Regions from separate parts of the Homo sapiens genome. Here region 2 is linked to region 1. Evidence: promoter capture Hi-C in 16 types of primary human blood cells and fetal thymus (Javierre and others, 2016). All regions are on one chromosome and are shown on one strand. The core of a region is centred on a gene start or on the middle of the fragment in contact, and the rest is flanking DNA. Distances in the headings are between cores, read along the strand shown.

Region 1 (5,299 bases), core at 2,281-4,780:
TCTGCAGAAGGTCCTTTTCCAGATTGAGAAACCCAAACCCTGATCTCCTCTTTTGATGATTTTACAAAAATCAAATTGCATGACAGATGCCCAGATAAACAGAAGTTTGCAATCAAAGCAAGTTCTGGGATGGAGCTGATTAGTAGATTTTTAATGGCTATTAGCTTGATAATCACGCACCAGGAATAGCTCCCAGGCAGACCAAACCCACGTATAAGTGGATCCACACCCATGTACACAACACCTAGTTGGCAGGTATATAAGGGGACCCTGAAAGCCTCCCAGCAGCACAGTTGAGTCTCCAGCCTTGACTCTTCTCAAGAGCCTGTGACTTTCCTCCCTGGACAAAGGCATCATGAGTTGTCAGATCTCTTGCAAATCTCGAGGAAGAGGAGGAGGTGGAGGAGGATTCCGGGGCTTCAGCAGCGGCTCAGCTGTGGTGTCTGGTGGAAGCCGGAGATCAACTTCCAGCTTCTCCTGCTTGAGCCGCCATGGTGGTGGTGGCGGGGGCTTCGGTGGAGGCGGCTTTGGCAGTCGGAGTCTTGTTGGCCTTGGAGGGACCAAGAGCATCTCCATTAGTGTGGCTGGAGGAGGTGGTGGCTTTGGCGCCGCTGGTGGATTTGGTGGCAGAGGAGGTGGTTTTGGAGGCGGCAGCAGCTTTGGAGGTGGCAGCGGCTTCAGTGGTGGTGGTTTCGGTGGAGGCGGCTTTGGTGGAGGCCGCTTTGGAGGTTTTGGGGGCCCTGGTGGTGTTGGAGGTTTAGGGGGTCCTGGTGGCTTTGGGCCTGGAGGATACCCTGGTGGCATCCACGAAGTCTCTGTCAACCAGAGCCTCCTGCAGCCTCTCAACGTGAAAGTTGACCCAGAGATCCAGAATGTGAAGGCCCAAGAGCGTGAGCAGATCAAAACTCTCAACAACAAATTTGCCTCCTTCATTGACAAGGTGACTCTGGAGAAGACGGCTCCCACTGATGCTCAGGCCACTTCACTTCCAGAGCCAACCAAAAAGAAAATGGCACAGATTTGTATTTCTTAGGAGCCAGTGGTGTACCGCAGTAGCCTGGGTCATTTGCGGTTTCCAGATGGAAAAGACGCCAGCTTTGTGGGTTACATTTCCCATAACAGCCTGCACTTAGGAAGCATTTGTCCCTTTGACCTTATTGTTACAGTCCATATAAATAATATTTATGGAAAATTCTGAAAACCATAAAAAATGGATATAGGCAAGTATTGAACTGATCCTTGGGACAGGCCACTGGAGCAGCAGGTTTTGGAAGCCATCGTCTTCTGAGATAGTGTTTCCTTCCTTAGCAGTGATTACTAAACTCTGGGAAGCTGAACCTGAAATATCTGCTTGGGAATGCAGGAAATTCCTGCCTTCAAGAGAAGCGTTCTCAGTTTTGTGATCCATAAAGTCTTTATTGGTGTCACTTCGGAGTGTTACTGGCTTTTCTCCTATTTCAAGGCAGACGAACCTGTCTTGGTTTATCTGCCTTGAAATAGGCAGGGATTTACAAGGCTCTTAAAAATCAGGCTGAGGAGCCCTGCCCTCTGGGACTCTCATACTCAGCACCCTTGCGAGCAGTGCCAGCAGATGGCTGCTTTCGGTTTTCCCCAGAATTTATGGGATCTTGGCTGGAAATTCAACCAGGATGCGGGGAGGGAAATGGTCTAGAGTATTGGGAGCAGCTGCAAACAAACCAGTGAGCAGTGAAGCAGCAAAGAGTCTCCTCTGCGTGGAGAGAGCCGGATGTAGCATTAGGAGTCTGTGGGACTTTCCAGGGGCGAAAGCAGGGAGCTCAGAAGCTCTGCCAGTCATGACTCGGCATCCAGCCTCAGACACTTCTCGAGGTCCTGAAGCAGCACCTGAGCTGCCCCTGGCCAGCGTGGCTTGCTTGGTGTGAAGGATGATCTAGAACTCATGTGCTCTCCTTCTGGTCATGGCAGGTGCGGTTCTTGGAGCAGCAGAACCAGGTGTTACAGACCAAATGGGAGCTGCTACAACAAATGAATGTTGGCACCCGCCCCATCAACCTGGAGCCCATCTTCCAGGGGTATATCGACAGCCTCAAGAGATATCTGGATGGGCTCACTGCAGAAAGAACATCACAGAATTCAGAGCTGAATAACATGCAGGATCTTGTGGAGGATTATAAGAAGAAGTAGGTGGCAGAGTGAAACGCTGAGTGGAGATAAACATTGCACTGAGCCATTTGATCACTCCCTGGAAAGCCATTCATCTCCCAGTTGCATTTGTGGTGGTAATGGGGAGAGGCATATGTATCTTTGTTGATTATTTGTGAGGAAGACAGTGAGACTTTAGAGATCATTTTTGTCTTTTGTATGTTTGAGAGTTAGTTTATAAAAATATATCTTTAGTTTGGAAATCTTAGTTTCAATTTAGATATTTAAAAAGTGTGTAATATTCCCAGAGAATGGGGCATTTGGGGTGAATCCAGTATAAAAGGAAAAGAAAAAAAATGAAGGGGAACTAATCTAACTGCTGTAACATCTGTGTCCCAATAGGTATGAGGATGAAATCAATAAGCGCACAGCTGCTGAGAATGATTTTGTGACGCTTAAAAAGGTGAGCGAGAGAATGTCTTGGCTGGGGGTGGGGATAGGAGTGCTTCACAGCCCCATTGTGTCTAAGCAGCCAGTTTGGAAATCAACTGTGAGTGCAAAAGCAGCAGCCAGAGAAAGGAGTGAGACCCATGGCACATTCTCTTGCAAACAAAATTGTCTCTGTAGGTCAAGCTTCTGGATACAGTTTTCAAAGCTGTTCTGCATTTTTGGTAGAGTGCTTCCCAGTAGTAACCCACTTAAAGCCTCTACTGAATCATGATAAATGCAAACACAAAAATCTCTTTGTATTCTCCTTCTAAAGAGCTGAGGAAGGAATGGGACTTCCCTTAGAATGCCTGCTTAAAGTTGCTGTTGGTTGTGCTGACAAAGGTTTGAGGTTGTAGGCCAAAAGCAAGGGTTCTCCTGCTGGGTCCTGCAGGGCCTTTGGTGTATATTCTGGGGAAATTTCGGAGAGGTGAGATGGACAGACGGGATGAGAGAGCTGAGGACTGTGGAAACCCACAAAGAACATCGTATCCTGTTGTAGAAACACACAGTGTCTCAAGCAGGAGAGAGGGGCTGGTTGGCAAAGCTTGGTCATCTCGAGGCTCTGATGGTCCTGAGGGCTGTGAGCCATGGACGTAGGCATGAAGTCCCTGGCAGAGGTGTATGGTAAACTGCACGACAAAAGAAGTCCCATGGGGACAGGGATCAGGTTGGGGAGCCTGGGATTTTAGAGAGGAGCCAGCAGGGACTGAGTAGAGGGGAGTGGCAGAGAGAGGAAGAGGCCTGTACAGGGAACCATACACCAGAGGCCTCAACCTTTCTTGCAGGACGTGGACAATGCCTACATGATAAAGGTGGAGTTGCAGTCCAAGGTGGACCTGCTGAACCAGGAAATTGAGTTTCTGAAAGTTCTCTATGATGCGGTAAGGAGGCTGCTCCGGGACAGTCCCTTACTTCCCACCCTTCTCACCAAATGAAAGTCCTTTCTGCTTGGTGAAAAAGTGGCAGAAGTGGGGTTTATGGACCAGCTGACTTCAATCTGCCATCATTCCAGGCCACTGGGGGGGCTTTCATAGCATAGGTCTTGTGGGTGAGGAATTTTCTCCTCCGATGTTATGGGAATAAGGTTCAGGAAACACCAGGACAGCTTCCCCTCCCTCCATTCCCCAGATGTCCATTTCCCCTGGGGAAGAGACAAGCCCTGTGCCCATTCCTGTGCCTACTGTACTTCAGAGGTCAAAATGCATTTGTCTCCTATCCCCCTCCCCAACCCAAGGGTGCACAGATGATTTCTGAAACAGGAAGTCCATTTAAGGTATTTGCCATGGACAAGCTTCTGTCTGGGGGCACTTACCATAACTGGCTTAAGTGCTGAATGTTAACTAGGAGGCTCAGAAATACAGGTGCCTCTCACTACAATTCTCAGGACAACCTTGGGAGAGGCCCAGGAGTAGACGGTTACATGATTTTCATCCCACCTAGTGTATGCTTAGTCTGAGGGTCTGCGTTTCCCTTATGCTGGGAGACAGAGGCCTCCTGTCTGCCTGTAGCTATGGCAGGATGTCATGACCAGACCTTCCTGTGTGTTGTAGGAGATATCCCAGATACATCAGAGTGTCACTGACACCAACGTCATCCTCTCCATGGACAACAGCCGCAACCTGGACTTGGATAGCATCATCGCCGAGGTCAAGGCCCAGTATGAGGAGATCGCCCAGAGGAGCAAGGAAGAAGCGGAGGCCCTGTACCACAGCAAGGCAAGTAGAGGGAATGTAGGAAGAGCCACAGCTCCCTGCCATGAGCTGGGTTGCACCCCCAGCTGGAAAGTGTACAGTAAGGTTATTGGTTTTTTGTTTAATGGTAGTTGGGCACCATTCCCAAGAAAGGATGTTGAGAATGGCACCAAGTCCTTTTGGGCATGTGAGACAGTCCCTACCTCTCATGAATGCAGCCATGACATTTAGCTGGGTTGACCCTCCCTGGACCAGTAACCAGCTCTCCTTCACTCCAGTCAGTCTGGAATGTGAGCCAGGCTGGAACTTCCTTGCAAACTGTCCTCTTCTCCCCATATCAGTATGAGGAGCTCCAGGTGACTGTCGGGAGACATGGAGACAGCCTGAAAGAGATCAAGATAGAGATCAGCGAGCTGAACCGCGTGATCCAGAGGCTGCAGGGGGAGATCGCACATGTGAAGAAGCAGGTGAGGCCCAGCCCTGTCCAGCGAGGGGCGGGAGGTTGTCTCTGGGTGTGCGTGAGAGTGTGGTTGTGTGTGAGTGTGCATGTGAGAGATGAGAGACACTGAGATATTGCACTCTAGCATGTATCGATCCCAAATTCCCCAGCTTAACATAATTTATGGCTTATTATAACAATTCTTAGAGTGCTCTAATAGACATTCCAAAGTAAGGATTATCGAAGGGAAAGAATTGTGCTCACTTGTTTATATGAGGAAAAGGGAGTCATAACAAATAGAGCAAACGTTAGTTTGATTGATTTGCTGCAGATTGCCGATGGAGCTTCCCGTTTGTGCTCAGCACAGGCCCTGAGCACCAGCCGACTGGTTTCATAGAGGGGCAGTGAGTATTGAGGGCAGCTGGCCTGGGGCTGGACGTTAGCTTTGGAATAGAAAAGGTAGAGGCAGAGAGTGGATTCCATCAGCAGCAGAAGCTTTGCCAAGCAGACCATTTCAAATGTTTTCATTTCCATCTGTAAAATGGGATCATGATTCAGG
Region 2 (5,299 bases), core at 1-2,500, 200 kb before region 1:
TTACAGGTGCCTGCCACCACGCCTGGCTAATTTTTTGTATTTTTAAGAGACGGGGTTTTACCGTGTTAGCCAGGATGGTCTCGATCTCCTGACTTCGTGATCCACCCGCCTAGGCCTCCCAAAGTGCTGGGATTACAAGCGTGAGCCACCGTTCCCAGCTTAGGAGTATTTTCTAAATGCACCTTGCTTTTTTTTTTGAGATGGAGTCTCACTCTGTTGCCCAGGCTGGAGTGCAGTGGTACGATCTTGGCTCACTGCTCAACCTCTGCCTCCTGGGTTCAAGCAATTCTCCTGCCTCAGCCTCATATGTAGCTGGGATTACAGGTGTGCACCATCACACCTGGCCAATTTTTGTATTTTTAGTAGAGATGGGGTTTCACCATGTTGGTCAGGCTGGTCTCAAACTCCTGACCTCCAGTGACCCACCCACCTCGGTCTTCCAAAGTGCTGGGATTACAGGCGTGAGCCACTGTGCCCGGCCCTAAATGCACATTTCATTTCAGAGCCTGGGTGGCTCTGATTTGTAACCTCAGGAAGCGGAGCCTGATGGCAGGTGGATGGGCCTGGCCCCAAGTGCTTGTGGAAGGAGCAGAGCCACAGGCTGGGTCAGAAACGTGCTGTCCCATGCGATCCTGGATGGAGATGCCTGATTTCAGTGGGTGGTGCCTCATGGATGATTGCTGGGTTGGGCAAGAGGAAGGACTTGGAAACCCTGTTTTTCTGTTTCATTTCCAAATCCTGGAGTGTCTTTTAGCCAACTATGGCAATAACACCTCCACTAACCTCCTCTCTTTGTGGCGCTGCAAGTGCCTTCCTTCTCCAACTCCTTGAGGCAGATTCTCCCTTGAGAATCCAGGGCACTCTGATGCTTCCTCTGAACCCCTTCTAGCGTTCTTTCCTCTTCAACCTCCTCTCGCTTCCCTGTCTCCTTCAGGAAGCCTTCCCTGAGGGCCTCAGTGACTTTGCTCCGGCCATCCCTCCCTGTCCCTCAGCACTGACATCCCAGTCTCCTGCCTGCTTCCTTGTCTTTGGGCATGCCTATTTCTCCAACAGCCTGGGAGCTCTGAGGGCAGGGTCTGGGTTTCCTTCTCCCTTGGCTCTGCACGTGCCGGACACTTATTCTCCAGGCACGTCAGAGTAAGTCAGCTGGAGCCAAGTGACAGACACAGTCAGGTCAAGAGTATCTTGCTCTCCAAGGCCCAGCCCAGGTACGGGAGTGGATAAAAGTCTCGTGCTGGGGCCCCAGGGCAGAAACTCACACACCTTGACAATCTGTCTGTCCGTCTGCAGCTGCGTGACTGTCTGTCTCTGCCATGTCTCTCTCCCCATGCCGGGCCCAGAGGGGCTTCAGCGCTCGCTCAGCCTGTTCTGCTCGCTCAAGGGGCCGCAGCAGGGGAGGCTTCAGCAGCAGGGGCGGCTTCAGCAGCAGGAGCCTTAATTCCTTTGGGGGGTGCCTGGAAGGCTCTCGTGGGAGTACCTGGGGGTCAGGGGGTAGGCTGGGGGTGCGGTTTGGGGAGTGGAGTGGTGGGCCTGGGCTCTCCCTGTGCCCTCCGGGGGGCATCCAAGAAGTGACCATCAACCAGAATCTGCTGACCCCACTGAAGATTGAGATCGATCCCCAGTTCCAGGTGGTGCGGACGCAGGAGACCCAGGAGATCAGAACCCTCAACAACCAGTTTGCTTCCTTCATTGACAAGGTGAGGGTCAACTCAGCCAAGCCCCTGTCTCTGTGCCTCCCTTGGAGGAGCTGCTCTTGATGGACTTGGAAATGGGAAGTTTGGCCTCCTTCTACCACTTTTCTAATAACTTCTGCAGCAAAGAAGTCCCTCCTGTGGACTAACTGGACTCTCTCTGGCTATGCTGAGGCCCTGTTGTTCCATGATTGGGGCTCAGGGACAGAGAACTGCCAGCCAGCGGGGGGAAGGCCCTGCCCCATTAGTCAGTCCAGTCATTTTGTTGTGTTCAGAGTGTCATGGAAGGTCATGAGGCTTCCCCTGCCCAGGTTGGGCAGGGGGACAGGGGAAAGGTGAGGCTGATGGGAGGGTCCCTCAGGCTTTACTTTCCAGAGGCTGTGCACAGGGAGTCCCACAGGAGCCTCAGGGATCCTCTGCTTTTGCTGCAGGTGCGGTTCCTGGAGCAGCAGAACAAGGTCCTGGAGACGAAGTGGCATCTGCTGCAGCAACAGGGGTTGAGTGGCAGCCAGCAGGGCCTGGAGCCTGTCTTTGAGGCCTGCCTGGATCAGCTCAGGAAGCAGCTGGAGCAGCTCCAGGGAGAACGAGGGGCTCTGGATGCTGAGTTGAAGGCCTGCCGGGACCAGGAGGAGGAGTATAAGTCCAAGTAGGCACACTGAAATTTCCCCATGCCATGTGGGCGGGGTCTGGGATGACTCAGTTTGGGTCTGTCAGCCAGGAGGTGTCCCACATACTGAGCACCCAGAGGCACATGACTGGCCTCCCCTCTACCCCTCCGCGTCCCCATTCCCCAGGCTCTCAGGTGCCCACCTGCTACAGGTAAACGAGGTGTCCCGCAGTCCCCAAGCAGATCTGGAGAACCTTGGAGGAAAGGCAGGGAGACCGGTGTCCTACATGCCCCAGCTACAAGGGCCCATGTTTCCGGTCAAGGCTGGGAAGGGCTTATTTAAACAATGCCCCAGTGGCTTTTTTTATTCTTGAGAAATTCCTGTTCAGCGGGCTGTGGGCTAAAGTGATTCAGATGTTCTCTGGTTCCAAAGAGGGAAGGGAATCAATTTAGTGGGGCTGTCCCCAGGCCTGTGACACAATTCACAGATGGGCTGTGGTTCTGGGCTCCACGCCTAGGTCACCTGGTGGAGTGGAGAGAGCCCTGGACTAATAGGGGGCTTGGGTTGGGGCAACTGTGAGTGAGGGGTAGCTGTGCATCCTGGGCAAGGCATCTCATCTCTCCCGGACTTGGTTTCCCTTCTGTAAACTTGGGAAATGTCACCTGCCCTTCTGGCCTCCCAGGGCTATTGGGATAATGGGATGTGAGGTGGAGGAAGGAAGGTTCTGGAAGGAGCCCTGGATTGGGGTCAGAAGACCTGGGCTGGCTCTGCTTTGTCTACCTAGTCATCTGTGGGGTCTTGGTCAAATCATCTAATCTCTCTGATAAAACCCAAACTGCCTACCTCAAGTGATGGGTGTGAGTAGCAAGTGGGAAAAGGTATTCGAATGTGCCTTATAAACTGAAACAATGTGGCTGTCGTCATCAAAAGGACATGGGCTGAAAGGGTGGCACAGGTACATAGCTAGGACGTGGCAGGAAAGGAGAGAAGGGCTGGTTATTGTCTTGTTTGGGGGCATTCTAAGGCAAGGAGTCCTTTTCAGGGAGGTCATGCTCGGACATGGGGGCATGAGCTCTGACCGTGGAGCCTCAAACTGCATCCTTCTCTACTTATTTGGCAGGTATGAGGAGGAGGCCCACAGGCGTGCCACACTTGAGAACGACTTTGTGGTCCTCAAGAAGGTGAGGGTGGGGGCCAGTGCTCCACTTACGTTCTGAGCATCCACTGTGCACGGAGCCTAGTCCTAGGCTGGGAGGGAAAAGGTGGGAGGTCCTGATTTAGGACAGGCTATCACTCTACCTGCAGGGGTCCCCTGGGAAAATGGGACATCTGCCTAGACACAGGGGCCCCAAGGCAAGATCTGACTAAAGGACTGCTTGACGAGCTCTTGATGTCACTGCAGGAGAGGGCGGGGAGGGAGAGGAAGAAGCAGAACTGGTTGTGATTAATCAGGGAAGACTTCCTGAAGGTGATGTTGGGTCAATGTTGGGCAAAGGAGAGAGCAGGACAGAGTGGGGCTGGAGGAGGAAGGAGGGGGTCTTGGGAGGCATGGTGGATGGGTGTTGAGCAGTGCATGAACAGAATTCCTGAGCCAGAGTAGGGACCCCAAAGAGGAAGAGGGGGTTACGTGTTCTCTCTCCCCTTGTCTCCAGGATGTGGATGGGGTTTTCCTGAGCAAGATGGAGTTGGAGGGCAAGCTGGAGGCTCTGAGAGAGTACCTCTACTTCTTGAAGCATCTGAATGAAGAAGTGAGGCTCAACCAAAGGGCAGGCTGCAGCCAAGAGAGAGGACTGGGTGGGCAGGCTTCCTGTGGCCATGAGGAGAATGGCCAAGAGGGGAAGTCTGTTAGGGTGGCTTAGATTCTGGGTCATTCAGTCACTTGACAACCAATTACTGAAAACTTACTATGTGAATTGCTAGGTCCTGGGGATACATCAATGAATAACCAGAAAAAAATCACTACAGATAAAAAAATTGCTTTTTTTTTTTTTTGAGATGGAATCTTGCTCAGTTGCCCAGGCTGGAGTGCAGTGGTGCAATCTCAGCTCACTGCAACCTCTGCCTCCCGGCTTCAAGCAATTCTCTGCCTCAGCTTCCCAAGTAGGTGGGATTACAGGCACCCGCCACTGCGGTCAGCTAATTTTTGTATTTTTAGTAGAGATGGGGTTTCACCATCTTAGCTAGGCTGGTCTTGAACTCCTGACCTCATGATCCACCCGCCTCGGCCTCCCAAAGTGCTGGGATTACAGGCATGAGCCACCACGCCCGACTAAGTTTGCTTTCTATTGGGAGACAGACAATAAGCAACAGACTTAGTAAATAAGGAAATCATATAGTATGGAAGAAGGTGATAAACGCAATGGAAAAAAGGAAAATGAGAACAGAGAAAGGAGGATTGGGAACATGGAGCAGGTGCCAACTTCAAATCATGTGGCCAGGGTAGGCCTTATTTAGGAGATAAAATCTGAGCAAAGATTTGGAGGAGGTGAGGAAGGTCACCACGCAGGTGGGTTTCTGGGATTCCAGGCAGTGGCTGCAGCCCACAGCGGGAGTGTGCTGTCTGAGGAAATGCAGGAAGGTCGGTGTGGCCAGAGTAGTAGGAGCGAGAGGGAGAGGAGTATGATAAGAGGTCTGAAGATGGCTGGGCACGGTGGCTCATGCCTATAATCCCAGCACTTTGGGAGGCTGAGGCAGGTGGATCACCTGAGGTCAGGAGTTCGAGACCAGCCTAGTGAAACGCTGTCGCTACAAAAACACAAAAATTAGCCAGGCTTGGTGGCAGGTGCTTGTAATCCCAGCTACTAGGGAGGCTGAGGGAGAAGAATGGCTTGAACCTGGAAGGCAGAGGTTACAGTGAGCCGAGATCACACCACTGCACTCCAGCCTGGGCAACAGAGTAAGACTCCATCTTAAAAAAAAAAAAGAAGAAGAAGAAAAAAAAAAGAGGCCTGAGGAGTGATGGGGGCTGGGTGATTTTGGGCCTTGCAGGCCATTTTCCAT

Evidence for each region. Contacts are between HindIII fragments. The CHiCAGO score rates a contact against its expected background, and 5 or more counts as called.
Region 2: the fragment with the promoter of KRT78 here is called in contact with a fragment that was not itself captured in region 1 in 3 of 17 cell types (naive CD4 T cells, total CD4 T cells and naive CD8 T cells); the score reaches 8.4 in naive CD4 T cells.

What each region holds. Positions count from the first base shown.
Region 1 is chr12:52,647,199-52,652,497 of GRCh38, reverse strand. KRT2 (keratin 2) reads left to right here and starts at 287. Exons shown (of 9, transcript NM_000423.3): 1 at 287-940; 2 at 1,945-2,159; 3 at 2,524-2,584; 4 at 3,396-3,491; 5 at 4,161-4,325; 6 at 4,643-4,768. The coding sequence starts at 356. The HindIII fragment of the contact is 747 bases long and covers 3,157-3,903 here.
Region 2 is chr12:52,844,945-52,850,243 of GRCh38, reverse strand. It overlaps KRT78 (keratin 78), which reads left to right and starts at 1,250. Exons shown (of 9, transcript NM_173352.4): 1 at 1,250-1,697; 2 at 2,123-2,337; 3 at 3,420-3,480; 4 at 3,952-4,047. The coding sequence starts at 1,314. The HindIII fragment of the contact is 13,226 bases long and covers 1-5,299 here.